Regions from separate parts of the Homo sapiens genome. Here region 1 is linked to region 2. The links are contacts of gene promoters, found by promoter capture Hi-C in human tissues and cell types (Jung and others, 2019). All regions are on one chromosome and are shown on one strand. Each heading gives the region's core, a stretch centred on a gene start or on the middle of the fragment in contact. The rest is flanking DNA. Distances are from core to core; before and after follow the strand shown. Region 1 has its middle 14 kb from the start of LTF. Region 2 holds the start of CCRL2 (C-C motif chemokine receptor like 2).

The links. The method cuts DNA at HindIII sites, captures the fragments that hold promoters and counts their contacts. A contact is called where the count stands out against the background at its distance.
Region 1: a contact is called between a fragment that was not itself captured here and the fragment with the promoter of CCRL2 in region 2, in 4 of the 25 tissues and cell types used here (IMR-90 fibroblasts, aorta, lymphoblastoid cells and 1 more).

What each region holds. Positions count from the first base shown.
Region 1 is chr3:46,477,154-46,480,084 of GRCh38, forward strand. It overlaps a transcript of LTF not described here. Among named protein-coding and RNA genes, the nearest start is that of LTF, 14 kb to the left of the region's middle. RefSeq lists enhancers at 772-1,273, 1,274-1,773. The HindIII fragment of the contact is 7,156 bases long and covers 1-2,931 here.
Region 2 is chr3:46,405,239-46,408,552 of GRCh38, forward strand. CCRL2 (C-C motif chemokine receptor like 2) reads left to right here and starts at 2,021. Exons shown (of 2, transcript NM_003965.5): 1 at 2,021-2,264; 2 at 2,830-3,314. The coding sequence starts at 2,842. CCR5AS (CCR5 antisense RNA) reads right to left here and starts at 1,828. Exons shown (of 4, transcript NR_125406.2): 1 at 1,659-1,828. The HindIII fragment of the contact is 5,778 bases long and covers 1,657-3,314 here.

The sequences.
Region 1 (2,931 bases), core at 323-2,822, 71 kb after region 2:
GCCAACACTGCCATTGTCTGTCTTTTTCATTTCAGCCACTCTGTTTGGGAATGTCTTTTGTCCATTGTTTGATTATTTGGTAAGGCTTTTTCTCATTGGCGGATAGTTCTTTCAATATTCTTCAGAGTCACCATTTCCCTCCACTTGCCTCTGTGAGGGAGCCCAGGGCTCCTCCTCCCTCAGCTCTTCTAAGCCCAGATGAAGCCTGGCCCTTCTGAGCACATCCCAAGGCCACACCTGCATTCTAGGCGACTCCCTTGTCCCTTTGATTCACTGGGTAGTCTGGTGCCTGAAAGGCAGGGTCAGTGATGAGAGTGGTTAAACATCGCAGGCAGGGGAGTTTGAAACCAGCTCTACCTCTTCCCCACTCCCCAGATCTAGCCACGTCATTCAGCCTGTCTCAGCTTCAGTGTCCCCATGTGAAAATAGGAATACTAAAAGCATCTCCCTCATAAAATTGTTAGAACTTAATGAAGTAACTTATAAAGATGCTTAGAACAGTGCCCAGCACATAGGGGCTGCTCAATCGATATTTTTTGAACGAAGGAATGGGTGTGTGAATTAATAAATGAATGGATGTAAGATTTTCAGTACAAGGCCAAACCATACAGTGAAAACTCAGTCAATATTAACTATTATTGTTATTGTTTCCATGCATTTCTGGTCCCCGTTGTGAGCCAGAACCTATGCAGAGTCCTGGGAATCTGCAAAGAGTTCCCTTTCCCCAGGCGGCTCCAGTTGAGTCACAATCCAACAGAAGGTGTTAGCAAAGGCAAGTTCACCCTACAGGGAGGACAGAGGGCCGAGCGGGAGCCACTTTCCCCAGTCTTCCTTCTCAAGCTAACCCAGCAGCGTGCCCCAGCCCTTTTACAGACATCTGTCTTTGTGATTCCTTGGGCCCCTCTCCACACCCACACTCCTTATGCCCACATTCTGTCCTGTTATCTGCAACCCTTTGTAACTCTTTCACTCCTCTCTCTTTTATGACGTCCACTTCTCTCTCCAGTTCTCTGTCTCTCTCACCATCATGCCCTCTTCCCGCCCCACTGCCCTGAGACTTTTCCTAATGGCCCCTCTCAGCAGCCTGGGCAGCCTCCTTGAATTTCTGCTCACCAGTAACCCAGCTGCGTCCCGACTGTCAGTCTTGGCTTTGCTCCACACATCTTCTCTCTCCCCCTCCAAGGGTCTCTGGGCTACAAGGGAAGCTTTCCCAGAACCCATGTGGCCACTCAGTCACTTCCCCAGAGGCTGAAGGTCGCTATGTTGGTGACAAAGGGCAGGTGACACACTTTGCTCTCCACAGTGCTATCAGCAGGCATGAGCAGGGTCCCTAGAGAGTGCCAGGGACCAAAGGGTGAGGCCAGGTCCACCCCGCTCTTAACCATCACTCCCCATCTTCCTGGACAGTGCAGCTGGATGAGGAAGCAGCCGCAGGATGCAACGTAGATGCTAGAGGGCCAAGGGGAGGACAGAAGAGGGTAGGGCAGAAGATGACTGGCAGAATGAGGAACTAGTGGGTGGGCCTGGGGACCTCGTAGATGAAGCAGAACCTGATGGCTATTTGGAAATGGAGGAAAGAGTCACAAAAGTGAGCAATTTCCAGGATATTTGGAAATATTCTGGCTTGAGGTTACTACCTTGAAATAATTTGACCAAGAAAATCAGACACTCTCAGAAAATAATATTTTTTATGCCATTTTACAAATGAGGTCTCTAAGCCCAGAGAGGGCGTGTGGCCTGCTCAGACCTGACACAGTGCGGCCAGGTAGAATCCAGCTTCCTGACTCCTTGCACTTAGAGGGGTTCCCTCAACTAAAGCCATCCTCACAGAGCATTTATCCTGGACCAGGTCCTTGTTAGGTACTGGGTCACCAAACTGAGTTAGACTCAGTTCTGCCCCCAAGGGCAACAGACAAGGGAATAGTCAGTTACCACCATAGGAGATGAGAATGTCCATGGACCACGGTAACAGAAGAAGCATGGAGAACCACGCCTGTGCCCAAGGCTCTGTGCGTGGTAGGGAATCTGCCTCCCACCTGTGGCAGCTCTGGAGGAGGGGCAGCCTGACCTGTGACAGGCAGGGAAAACCCCATAGCCCCCTCTCTCCCACCCTGGCATCTTCCAGCAACCTCCACAAAGTGGGTTTGGCCGGAACCAAGTGATTGAGGGGGAGATTACAGGGCCCGGGAATTGTGGGGCCCTGTGGGTACCTAGAAGACCATCTGCTTTTACTCTGAGGATGTAGGAGCCAAGGCAGAAGGCTGAGAATGGACTGAGAGGCAGAACAAGTGGGGAGCAGAGAGATGATTAGGGAGGCTCCAGCAGTGACCTGGGAGAGAGATGAAGTGGCTTTTCTGTTTGTTTGTTTGTTTGTTTGTTTGTTTGTTTGTGACAGAGTCTCGCTCTGTCACCCAGTCTGAAGTGCAGTGGCACGATCTCAACTCACTCCAACCTCTGCCTCCAGGGTTCAAGCGATTCTCCTGCCTCAGCCTCCCAAGTAGCAGGGATTACAGGCAAGTGCCACCACCCCTGGCTAATTTTTGTATTTTTAGTAGAGACGGGGTTTCACCATGGCTGGTTTCTAGGCTGGTCTCGAACTCCTGACTTCAAGTGATCTACCCACCTCAGCCTCCCAAAATGCTGGGATTACAGGCGTGAGCCACTGCGCCCGGCCAGAAGTGGCTTTGATTAGGATGTGGCAGTGGAGAAATAGTGAGATGGCTGGATTCTTGACATATTTTAAAGGAGGAGGTCATGGGATTTGCTTACATTACAAGGGGATGTGGGGTGTGAAGGAGAGAGGTGGATGATGGCACCAAGGTGTTTGGCCTGAGAAACTAAAAGGAGGTAGTTTCATTAACTGAGATGGGGAAGACTGGGAATAAAGCAGATTGAGGAGGAGGTGGATCAGAAGCTCCATTCTAATCATGG
Region 2 (3,314 bases), core at 771-3,270:
TATTAGTAAGCCAGGGTGATCCTGAATTTACAAAACATTTTTCTTTGGGAAATTTCACACCTCACATGATTCTGTGTTTTTACTTGGGAAATTTCACATCTCACATGACTCTGTGACATGCGGTACATGAGGTGCCTGACTGCTGTTTTTGTCCTCTACTAATGAGGAAGAGTGTGCGTACTCCCAGCGTTTTGCAAGTTTCAAAGTCTGACTTGACTTTCCTTCCTTTTCCTGGAACTGATCCATGAGTATCGAGAGTAAAGCTGCCCGCACCTACTCATTCAAGATCCTGAGTGTCCTGCCCAGCTGCAGGAGGTGGAGAGACCCAGGAGGAGGGGCCACTGCTGATCCCAGGCTGTAGGGGGTGGGAAGAGTGTCCCAGGGCACCATGACCCCCACTCACTCACTCACAGGAGACCCACACAAGAGAGGAGAGGGCACTTACAGCTTAGGTTCCCACCAGCACCAACTCCTCTGCCATCAAACATCATTGTGTTTCTCTTTCTGCCTTGTCTGTCGGCACACGTGGAGTTAAATTTAATGCTCAATCACATATTTGTCTGGGCTCTTTCTGTGTTTATTTTTCTCTTAATAGTTCTCTCTCCTCCCTTCCTCTCCCCGCCCCTCCTCCTCCTTCTTCTTTTTTTTTTCCAGAGACAGTGTCTCGCTCTGCCACCCAGGCCAGAGTGCAGAGTGGCATGATCATGGCTCACCGCAGCCTCCAACTCCTGGGCTCACGTGAACATCCCACCTTGGCCTCTGGAATGTCTGGGATTACAGGCACTTGCCACTGCATCTGGCTAATTTTTATATTGTTTATAGATCCGGGATCTCACTATGTTGCCCAGGCTGGCCTCAAACTCCTGGGCTCAAGCGACCCTCCCACCTCATACTTCTGAGTAGCTGGGGCTGTAGGAATGCGCCTCAGTGCCAGGCTAGTTTCTTAATTTTCTATTTCTATTTTGACAGGTACAAATTTTGTATTCAATCCTACCTCAGACACATCTTTGGTGGGAAAAGGATGTCATTTAATCAATATATAAATTCTAAGCAAATAGGTCTGATCCCCAAATTAGGTTAGTCACAGCTGCTGAGTCGTTGACCCAAGAGAAGCTCATCTAGATTTTTTCATTATTTTCAAGTTCCTCTTCTCGGTTCGTCCTTCTTCCAGACCGTGCCCTCCCCGTCCCACTCTCTTCCCACAGCCTCCCCTCCCCACAGCCTCCTCCCACCATTCCAAATCTGGGCTGTTCTCTCAATTTCCTTCTCTCTGGACTCAAACCTACCCTAGCCCCCAGCCTCAGTTTGGGGTTAAACTTGTCCTCCTCACATTCTCTCCCACCCAACTTGATGTCGCCTCTGTGTCATCACCACGGGATTTTCCTCCTCTGGGTTCTCCTTTTCCGAGTGGGGTCAGCTCCCCCATGAGTCACAGCACCAATCACTTCTGGCTGCTTGCAAACCCCTTTGCTTTCCTCAGTGTTGACACCCAGGGCAGCCCTATGCTCACTGCCGCTGAGACCCCACCTCTGCCCCTGGCCTTTTCCCAGCTGACATCACCCTGTGGCTTCCATTTTCCTAAAATTCTCTTTTGAGGCCTCAGTCTTAACCAAAGCACACAGTGCCCCTCAAAAATGACAATAAAAACCCAAACACACCGTGACTGTCATGGCAGGTTCCTGGTCCCCGTATTGAATCAGCGGGTGGGTTTCTGCGAACACTGGTGAGAGGCCGCATTAGAGGGTCAGGACCCTCAGGTCTGGACTCGTGGTCACCACATACCTTCCTCCCTGCTGACAGTAGCTGGTACCTGTTACCTACTCAGAGTGTCACATGCCACAAGCCAGAGCGTCTTGGCAGTTCTCAGCACCTTGACATCACTTCCTTGCTACCACTCAGAGCGGCAGTGACACAGTTCCCTTATCTCAGAAGGCCAGAAGACGGCTGTCAAAGGTCACAGGGAAATCAAAGGCGGGGTACAGGGCCAGAGGGAGGAGGAAACAACTTCCCGGTTGCTTTCAGACGCTTCAGAGATCCTCTGGAGGCCTGGGGGAGCTTTTGAGTACTTTATTTCAGTTGGTCCCTGAGCTCGGTGAGTGGGGCGGGTAGAGCCACCAGGGGAATCAACAGTGGTTTCTCGTGCCCCTCAGGGTCAGGAGCAGTCTGATCAAAAGGAGGGCATCCACTGTCCGGGGCCATTCCCACAGCTCCCGGATGCTGGGTCTGGAGGCTGCGCCCTTCCCCTGCAGGAGCTCAGCCCAGTGGTAAGTCATCTGTGTGTCATCTATGTATTTAACCCCTTATGGCCATGTTGATGCTGAGCATGGTTTCACTTTTGCAAACATTTATTTATACCCTTCGAGAGAAAAACGTCTCAGCTGTCACAGGAAGCTGCTTCGGGGGGTGAGCAAACTTTTTAAAATGCAGAAATTATGATCTACACCCGTTTCTTAAAAGTAAGCCATCGTACTTGGTTCTCTTTAATTATATATTTTCTTACATATTGTGTTCATGTAGGCAAGTCCTGTTTCTGCTAAAAGAAGGTAAGTTCTACCAAGGCGGTGTCATGCCAGCTTTATTTCCCGTGGCACCTGGCACACTGCTAAGCACTTACATGCTTAACAACTAGATTGGGAATGGTGCTGCTCTGGGGAAGTGGGCACACGTTAAAGAAATGTTTATTTCAGTCTTCTGAAATAGGGAATTACTCTGGCTAAAATGTAGCTCCAGAAAGGGAAAGTGGGGCTGTATGAATCCAGGTCCAGTTTGTTGTTTCCTCCAGGATAAGGCAGCTGTCGGAGGGGAAAATCATCTCCCATTTCTCCACAGGGCAGTCTGAAGATGGCCAATTACACGCTGGCACCAGAGGATGAATATGATGTCCTCATAGAAGGTGAACTGGAGAGCGATGAGGCAGAGCAATGTGACAAGTATGACGCCCAGGCACTCTCAGCCCAGCTGGTGCCATCACTCTGCTCTGCTGTGTTTGTGATCGGTGTCCTGGACAATCTCCTGGTTGTGCTTATCCTGGTAAAATATAAAGGACTCAAACGCGTGGAAAATATCTATCTTCTAAACTTGGCAGTTTCTAACTTGTGTTTCTTGCTTACCCTGCCCTTCTGGGCTCATGCTGGGGGCGATCCCATGTGTAAAATTCTCATTGGACTGTACTTCGTGGGCCTGTACAGTGAGACATTTTTCAATTGCCTTCTGACTGTGCAAAGGTACCTAGTGTTTTTGCACAAGGGAAACTTTTTCTCAGCCAGGAGGAGGGTGCCCTGTGGCATCATTACAAGTGTCCTGGCATGGGTAAC